3 separate regions of the Homo sapiens genome follow, and regions 1 and 3 are each linked to region 2. Evidence: promoter capture Hi-C in 16 types of primary human blood cells and fetal thymus (Javierre and others, 2016). All regions are on one chromosome and are shown on one strand. Each heading gives the region's core, a stretch centred on a gene start or on the middle of the fragment in contact. The rest is flanking DNA. Distances are from core to core; before and after follow the strand shown. Region 1 holds the start of ILVBL-AS1 (ILVBL antisense RNA 1). Region 2 holds the start of RASAL3 (RAS protein activator like 3). Region 3 has its middle 7.3 kb from the start of SYDE1.

Region 1 (2,700 bases), core at 1-2,500, 340 kb after region 2:
TCACCCCGAGCCTAGGCGCACAAAGGGCGTGGTCTGGCAGGGTTGGGGGCGTGGCCGCACAGAAACTGGCGGCAAGGGTCGTGGCCCTGGATCCTGCTGCGAGAAGGGGCGCGATTTCTTCCGGAGAGGTTCCCTGTCGCGCCCAAGTCTGGGAAGTGCCCTTTCTCTCTTAGGTACCACCTCATGGAGACCCCCGCGGCCGCCGCCCCCGCTGGGAGCTTATTCCCCTCCTTCCTGCTCCTGGCCTGCGGGACGCTGGTGGCCGCCTTGCTGGGCGCCGCTCACCGCCTGGGGCTCTTCTATCAGCTGCTGCACAAGGTGCGGGGCACAGAATGGGAGGTGGGCTGGGGGCAGTCAAAGAGGGAGGGGCCTCGTGGTGCTGCTTCCAGCTCACTCATTGTGCAGGGTGGGAAAGCGAGCCCCGACTAGTCCAGAGGGACTGGTAAGAGGTTCTGTCCAGGGCCCTGTCTCCATTGCCACGCTGTGTATGGAGGCCTGGACTTTGCCACTGGTAAGAGAGAACACGGAAGCTGCCGCTGCCGGGGCACTCGCACCCCACCTACCTCCTTCCCCAGTGACTCTTTTCACAGAACAGATGGACAGCACTCTGTGCTCCCTAACCTGGATGGGATAAATGGGGCAGAGGGCAGGCTCCAGCGAGGGGGTGGCAGTGACAGTTTCATAACAGTTGCCCTCTGCTGAGCTCAGTACTGTAGACTTTCTTACCTACCCCTTACCTTTTCCTTGAAAGTAGGTGCTGTTCTTTCTGTCTTCATTTTCTGCAAGAGGAAGCTGAGGCTCAGAGAGATTGTGTGGTGGTTTGCCCTAGGTGACATGTTTGGAGAGAGCTGACCCCACAGGTGTCCCCCTAAACTCCTTGCACCTCTGTTTGAAATTTACCCCTTCTCCAGACCCCTTCCTCAACCCTTTCTCTCCTAGCAGGGACCAAGCTTGACCTCTCCCTCCCCAAACCCTTCTCTACTGCTTCCTCTGCTAGCCAGGAGTGATGCCACTGACCTTCAGGACTTAGGAGATTTAAAGCAAGCCTTGGATGTGTAGGGCTGTGAGGCAGCTGGAGTTGGGAGGCCTCGGCACAGTCTGTGCCAGCAGCTCACTCCCGTGCCAGGCACATGGTGGCTGGCAGCCTGTCAACTAAGCCCTGGGCCTGTTTAGCGTCCATCAGGAGGGCATCAGGGAGGCTGGGATCAGGAGCCCAGCTGCCAGGCTCTGCAAGGATACTGGAGGGCAGGGAGGAGTCACAGCAGATGGCTCCCTGCCATCTGCTCTGCGTGCGTTGTGCCCCTGGCCAAACCCCCTGGGTTATATAACCCTCTCCTCTCTCCCTGATTGCCCTGCCATCCTGGAGACAGGCAGTGTAACAGTGGGGCACTTAAGAGCGTGGGTTCTATTGAACTTTCAGTCTTACTTGGGCAAGCCTTGATGTCCTCAGCTGTAAGAGGGATGTAATGACAAGAGGATCTGATAAGATGTTATGCCTTGGTTTGAGCCTGGCATGTAGTATAATATATGCCTAACCAAGACCAAGCTTCTCTTGACCTCTCACCCTGCTCCTGCCCCCTTACCTGGGGCAGGGGGATTGCCCCCTTTCCCAGCTGCCCTCTGCCCTGGCCTTTAACTTTATTGCTCCACCTGTCCTTGGGCCCAGGTGGACAAGGCAAGCGTCCGGCATGGCGGAGAGAACGTGGCCGCTGTGCTGAGGGCCCATGGTGTGCGGTTCATCTTCACGCTGGTCGGTGGGCACATTTCCCCGCTGCTGGTGGCCTGTGAGAAACTGGGCATCCGTGTGGTGGACACACGCCATGAGGTCACGGCCGTCTTTGCTGCTGATGCTATGGCCCGCCTGTCCGGTGAGGGCATTGCAGAGAGGGCTGGGGACTGGTTGGACTGTGGGCTAGAGTGTCTGTGAGGGTAGGGGTTTTTCAGAGGTGGAAGAATGGCCAAGAGAGTGGGCATGGCTGTGATGGGCTCTGTGTTCCAGGGACGGTGGGCGTGGCGGCAGTGACAGCAGGCCCTGGCCTCACCAACACGGTGACTGCGGTGAAGAATGCTCAGATGGCTCAGTCCCCAATCCTGCTTCTGGGTGGGGCTGCCAGCACTCTGCTGCAGGTACCCAGTCCTTGGGGGCCAGTGGGGGCCTAGGGGGGCTTGAAGGGCTCATGCGATAACCCTGCCACACCTCTGTCTTTGCCAGAACCGGGGTGCGCTCCAGGCTGTTGATCAGCTGTCCCTTTTCCGGCCACTCTGTAAGTTTTGTGTGTCTGTGCGGAGGGTGCGGGACATTGTGCCCACCCTGAGGGCCGCGATGGCTGCCGCCCAGTCGGGCACCCCAGGTAGGTGGAGGATGGTGATGCTGAGCAGTGCTGGGGCCGAGGGGCTGGGGACATGTTATGGACTCAGCGTCCTCCCTGTCCCTGCAGGTCCGGTGTTTGTGGAGCTGCCCGTTGACGTGCTGTACCCCTACTTCATGGTCCAGAAGGAGATGGTGCCAGCCAAGCCACCCAAGGGCCTCGTGGGCCGAGTGGTCTCCTGGTGAATAGCCCCACCCCTGCCATTCCCTCCTTTATCCCCCGTTCTCTCCTGCAGCTTCCAGCCCACACCCATCCTCCTTTGATTCACATGTGGACTGGGAGGAGACAGCTGGGGGGAGAGCATTCCAGGTAGAAGGAACAGCATGTGCAA
Region 2 (2,700 bases), core at 42-2,541:
CGGTGGCTTACGCCTATAATACCAGCACTTTGGGAGGCCAAGGCGGGCAGATCATTTCAGGTCAGGAGTTCAAGACCAGCCTGACCAACATGGTGAAACCCCGTCTCTACTAAAAATACAAAAAAATTAGGCAGGCATGGTGGTGAATACCTGTAGTCCCAGCTACTCAGGAGGCTGAGTAGGGAGAATCACTTGAATCCGGGAGGCAGAGATTGCAGTGAGCCAAGATCGTGCCACTGCACACCAGCCTGGGAGACAGAGCGAAACTCCTTCTCGATAAATAAATCAATTAATAATAATAAGAGTAATAATAAATCTTGCCATCTTCCAGAAGCCCCCCTTGTACCCTCTTCCCAGCCACCAGTGCCTCCAAAAGAAACTGATACCCTGCTTGTTAGACATGGTTTTGCCTGCTTTAGGACTTTATGTAAATGGAATCACAAAGTGTATACTCTTCATTGTTTTGGGGTTTTTAAATTTATTTATTATTGCTTTTTAGAGATGGGGTCTCCCGAGGGCAGGGAGGGGAAAAAGAAAAAAAAAAGTTAGATATGAGGTCTCCCTATGTCACCCAGACTGGAGTGCACTGCCTATTCACAGGCATGATCACAGCTCACTGCAGCCTCGAACTCCTGGCCTCAAGCGATCCTCCTCCCTCAGCCTCCTGAATAGCTCAGATTACTGGCATTTTATGGCTTTGGTTTTGGTTTTGGCTCAACATTGTTTGTGATTCACCCAAGTTAAATCATTCTTTAGTTTGTTCTCACTGCTGTATGATATTCTGCTGTGCGAAGAGATCACAATTTATTCCTTCTCCCACTAATGGGTACTTAGGCTGCTTCCAATGTGGGGCTATTATGCATTGTGCTGGGGGGGCATATCTATTGGACGTCTACCTAGCAATGGAATTGCTGAGTCAGAGAAGATCCAGCTAGTAGTGTTAGTAGATCCTGCCAAACCGTTTCCCAACATGAGTGAATGGGTCTACACTCCGGCCAACTGTGGATTAGAGTTCTAGGTGCTTTGTATTCTCGCCAGCATTTGTTCAGCCTGTACTCATTTTGCAGAGAAGGCAACGGAGGCTCAGAGAGAGGGGCAAGTGCTGCCTCCCCGTCAGGGAGGCAGTCTGGGTCCTTCTTGCTAGAAGCCTGGTAACCCACCTCCTCTCTTCTCCTCCCTCGAACCTCCAGCAACCTGCCCGCACTGTGCCCTCCCAGCCTGGCTGTGGGGTGGGGTGGGACAGAGAGGGTCACGTGGAGTTGGGTTCCGAGGGAGGAAGCCAGGCGGGGTGCAGACGGCTGCTGATTCTGGGGCTGGTCAGGAAACCAAGGTAAGGGAGGGAGTGGAGGTGGGGGCAGGGGGATTCCTGGAGGCAGAGCTGAGGGTGGGGAGGGGGCCGAGATGAGGGCAGTATGTGGACAGACACTGGGCACTACTGTCACTCTCTCGTCCCCCAGGAGACCCCCCCCCCCAACCATGGACCCACCGTCGCCAAGCCGGACCTCCCAAACCCAGCCCACAGCCACCTCTCCGCTGACTTCCTACCGCTGGCACACAGGGGGCGGTGGGGAGAAGGCGGCTGGAGGGTTCCGCTGGGGCCGCTTTGCTGGCTGGGGCAGGGCCCTGAGCCACCAGGAGCCCATGGTCAGCACCCAGCCAGCCCCTCGCTCGATATTCCGTCGGGTCCTATCTGCGCCTCCCAAGGAGTCACGGACCAGTCGCCTTCGACTCTCCAAGGCCCTCTGGGGGAGGCATAAGAACCCACCGCCGGAGCCAGACCCGGAGCCGGAGCAGGAGGCCCCAGGTACATGGTTCCCCCACCCTGAGCTTGGGCCGGGCTGGGAAGCCGGATGCTTGGGTTTTGTCTGCCTCCGGAGCATCAACCATACAGACACAGGAAGTTGTGGGGAGTGCAAAAGCCCAGCAGGAAGCCGCTGGGGCCCAGCTACCCTGTTCCCTCTTTCCCCCTAAAGAGGGTAGGAGGAGTTGCCGGGGTCCTGTGGGCAGAGGGTCCATCTGAGGAAGGAACAGTGAATGTAAACCCGTGATAGTATTGTCCAGAGGCTAAACGGCTCTTGGCCCCAACGGGTCTCTCCTTCAATGGCTCAGGCCCATCCTTTCCTACCTGGATATCCATCTTCAGCCTGCCTCCTACTCTCCTACCTTCTAGCTTCCGTGTCTTTGTTCTGAGCCCTTAAGCCTCAGCCTCTCCATCAGTTCAGTGAGAATAATGATCTCCATTTTGGAGAGTATATAATTTTATTTGCTCATATTCATTCATTTATTCAAGCAGAGGTTTGTTGAGCTTCTATTGTATGTGCCAGGCCCTGATTTAGGCACTGAGGACACACTAGTGAAAGAGACAGATGACCCTCCCTGCCCCATGGAGCTCACAGTGTAGTGGAATTGACAGGAAATCCATCAACAAGAAAATGACAGATGGGCCAGGCATGATGGCTCACACCTGTAATCCCAGCACTTTGGGAGGCCAAGGTGGGTGGATCACCTGAGCTCAGGAGTTCGAGACCAGCCTGGCCAACATGGCAAAACCCTGTTTCTACTAAAAATACAAAAAAAAAAAAGTATCTAGGCATGGTGGCACATACCTGTACTCCCAGCTACTCAGGAGGCTGAGGCAGGATAATCGCTTGAACCCGGGAGGTGGAGGTTGCAGTGAGCTGAGATTGCACTACTGCACTC
Region 3 (2,700 bases), core at 95-2,594, 360 kb after region 2:
ATTAGGCTGTTTTCAAGGCTATGGGCATGGGGCGTGGTTCTGTGGGGCTACATCTCCATTCTACCAGCTCCCTGGGGTGCTCAGTTCCTGGGGGATGGGAGATAGAGAAGGTTTTGGGGAGCAGGACCCAAGCTTCCTCCACCCGCTGTGGTCATTCCCATTTGTTTCCACACCTGAGGCTTGCGTCTATCTGGCATCTTCCAGGAGAAGAAGGTGAATACCTCAGCCTGCCTAGGCCTCCCTGGCTGGAAGTCAGACCTCAGAGGAACCAGCAAAGGGGTGGCTGCCCAGAGATATCCATCACAGTAGCATTCAGGAGCTGGAGGGAGAGGGGATGATTGTATATAATGAAATGGTTATGAATTCTGTTAGCATAAAGCAGCTTCCTGAGGCAGGGCACAGTCTCACCTGGGTGACAGTCAGTGGTACAGCATTGCTTGACCAGAGCCTCCCATTGACCCTTGGAAAAATCTGGCCAGACAGCTATAGAGCTGAAACTGAGGTGCAGGAGGGGTCCATAGTTGCTCCATGCCACCTCCAGAGTGGTCTCTGTTTATCAGCTGCAAGGCTGTGGAGCTTTCCTGCTGGCTAGGCCCCTGCACAGCCTCAGGGATAGACTCAGCAACTGGCCACTGCAGCCATGCCAAGAGCTCTCCAAGCTGGACATGGTGGTTCACACCTGTAGTCTCAGCTATTCTGGAGACTGAGGCAGGAGGATCACTTGAGCCCAGGAGTTTGAGGCTTCAATGAGCTATGACTGCACCACTGCCTCTAGCCTGGGCAACAGAGCGAGACCCTGTCTCTCCCCGTCTCTCTCTCTCTTTTTTTTTTTTTCTTGAGACAGGGTTTTCACTCTTGTTGCCCAGGCTGAAGTGCAGTGGCGCAATCTCGGCTCACTGAAACCTCCGCCTCCCAGATTCAAGCGATTCTCCTGCCTCAGCCTCCTGAGTAGCTGAGATTACAGGCGCCCACCACCATGCCTGGCTAGATTTTGTATTTTTTAGTAGAACTCCTGACCTTAAGTTATCTGCCCTCCTTGGCCTCCCAAAGTGCTGGGATTACAGGTGTGAGCCACCGTGCCCAGCTGAGGCCCTGTCTCTTAAACAAAGCTTATCTGATGTCCAGCTCCCAGACCTGGTGTGCTGGTGTGGACCCCCTAGACTCTACAGGCTGGGTGTACCAGAGGAAGCAGGAGCAGCCTGCAGAGAGGTGGCTGATCAGGTGAGGACAGGTGGCTGGGTGGGCAGGGCTTTGACAGAGATCCCACATCAGGCTTAGCTCCTGCCTCCTTCCTCCCATGCTTCTGGGCTCTCCTGCACATTCCAAAGTAAAGTCTAGCCCTTGTCTGGCTCCTGAAGAGTTGCCTTCAAGCTGGTGGAGTATCCTGTGTGATGAGAGTCTCTTTGTATACCTGGAGGTCACACCAGAGAGTTTATGCCAAAAACGTGTTTTATGGTGGAGGCCTTGGGCCTCACTGTGTCAGTTTGACCTCTCGAGGGGCTTGAGGCTGAGTAGCTAAGGTCAGTCACACAAATGGTCAGCCATACTATGTGGCTGTTATGGGCTAAATCAAGCTTGTTTAACCCGCCACCCACAGGCTGCATGTGGCCCAGGAAGGCTTTGAATGTGACCCAACACAAATTCGTAAACTTTCTTAAAACACTATGAGATTTTTTTTTTGCGATTTTTAGCTCATCAGCTATCTGTTAGTGTTAGTGTATTTTATGTGTGGCCCAAGACAATTCTTCTTCCAATGTGGTCCAGGGAAATGAAAAGATTGGACACCCATGGGCCAAATTATGTCCCCTTCAGTCCCTTGCCAAATTCCTATGTTGAAGTCTTAACTCCCGGTCCCTTAGAATGTGACTGTATTTGGAGATAGAGTCTTCTCTTCCTCTTTGGTCTCCCAAAGTGCTGGGATTACAGGTGTGAGCCACTGCTCCTGGCCATGTATGTATTTTCTTTCTTCCTTCCTTCCTTCCTTTCTTTCTTTCTCCTTCCTTCCTTCTTTCTTTCTTTCTTTCTCCCTCTCCTTCCTTTCTTCTTTCTTTCTCTCTCCTTCCTTCCTTCCTTTTCTTTCTTTCTTTCTCTCCTTCCTTCCTTCTTTCTTTCTCTCTCTCTACTTCCTTCCTTCCCCTTTCTTTCTTTCTCTTTCTTTCTTTCCTTCTTTCTTTCTTCTTTCTTTCCTTCTTTCTTTCTTCCCTTCCTTTCCTTCCCTTTCCCTTTCCCCTTCCCCTTCCCCTTTCCCTTTCCCTTTCCCTTTCCCTTCCCTTCCCTTCCCTTCCCTTCCCTTTCCCTTCCCTTTCTTTTCTTTTTCTATTTTTTTTTTCAGGGTCTCTCTCTGTCGCCCAGTCTGGAGTGCAGTGGTGCGATCTTACAGGCCTGTGCCACCACGCCCAGCTAATTTTTGTATTTGTAGTAGAGACAGGGTTTCACTATATTGGCCAGGCTGGTCTTGAACTCCTGACCTCAAGTGATCCCCCGACCTTGGCCTCCCAAAGTGCTGGGATTACAGGCATGAGCCGCCACACCCAGCCCCACATGTATGTATTTTTCTTCCTCCAATTTTCTTTCTCGTTGGCTGCAGGCCTGATACGCTGTGCTTTTGGTACCTGGTGGGTTAACCACCCGCAGGCACATACAGACCCATTCGTTGAAAGACAAAATGCAGGTGGAGGGACCGGTCAGGTTTGGGCAGAG

What was found. Contacts are between HindIII fragments. The CHiCAGO score rates a contact against its expected background, and 5 or more counts as called.
Region 1: a contact is called between a fragment that was not itself captured here and the fragment with the promoter of RASAL3 in region 2, in 1 of 17 cell types (naive CD4 T cells). The highest score is 5.5, in naive CD4 T cells.
Region 3: a contact is called between a fragment that was not itself captured here and the fragment with the promoter of RASAL3 in region 2, in 2 of 17 cell types (naive CD4 T cells and naive CD8 T cells). The highest score is 6.6, in naive CD4 T cells.

The regions. Positions count from the first base shown.
Region 1 is chr19:15,122,543-15,125,242 of GRCh38, reverse strand. HACL2 (2-hydroxyacyl-CoA lyase 2) reads left to right here. Exons shown (of 16, transcript NM_006844.5): 2 at 174-318; 3 at 1,667-1,868; 4 at 2,000-2,127; 5 at 2,213-2,351; 6 at 2,439-2,550. The coding sequence starts at 184. It overlaps ILVBL-AS1 (ILVBL antisense RNA 1), which reads right to left and starts at 1,083. Exons shown (of 3, transcript NR_186314.1): 1 at 1,018-1,083; 2 at 738-779. RefSeq lists a silencer at 1-3 and an enhancer at 1-717. The HindIII fragment of the contact is 596 bases long and covers 953-1,548 here.
Region 2 is chr19:15,463,135-15,465,834 of GRCh38, reverse strand. RASAL3 (RAS protein activator like 3) reads left to right here and starts at 1,291. Exons shown (of 18, transcript NM_022904.3): 1 at 1,291-1,330; 2 at 1,458-1,804. The coding sequence starts at 1,477. RefSeq lists enhancers at 948-1,057, 1,698-1,827, 1,928-2,067. The HindIII fragment of the contact is 11,932 bases long and covers 1-2,700 here.
Region 3 is chr19:15,098,744-15,101,443 of GRCh38, reverse strand. No RefSeq gene overlaps it. Among named protein-coding and RNA genes, the nearest start is that of SYDE1, 7.3 kb to the left of the region's middle. The HindIII fragment of the contact is 465 bases long and covers 1,112-1,576 here.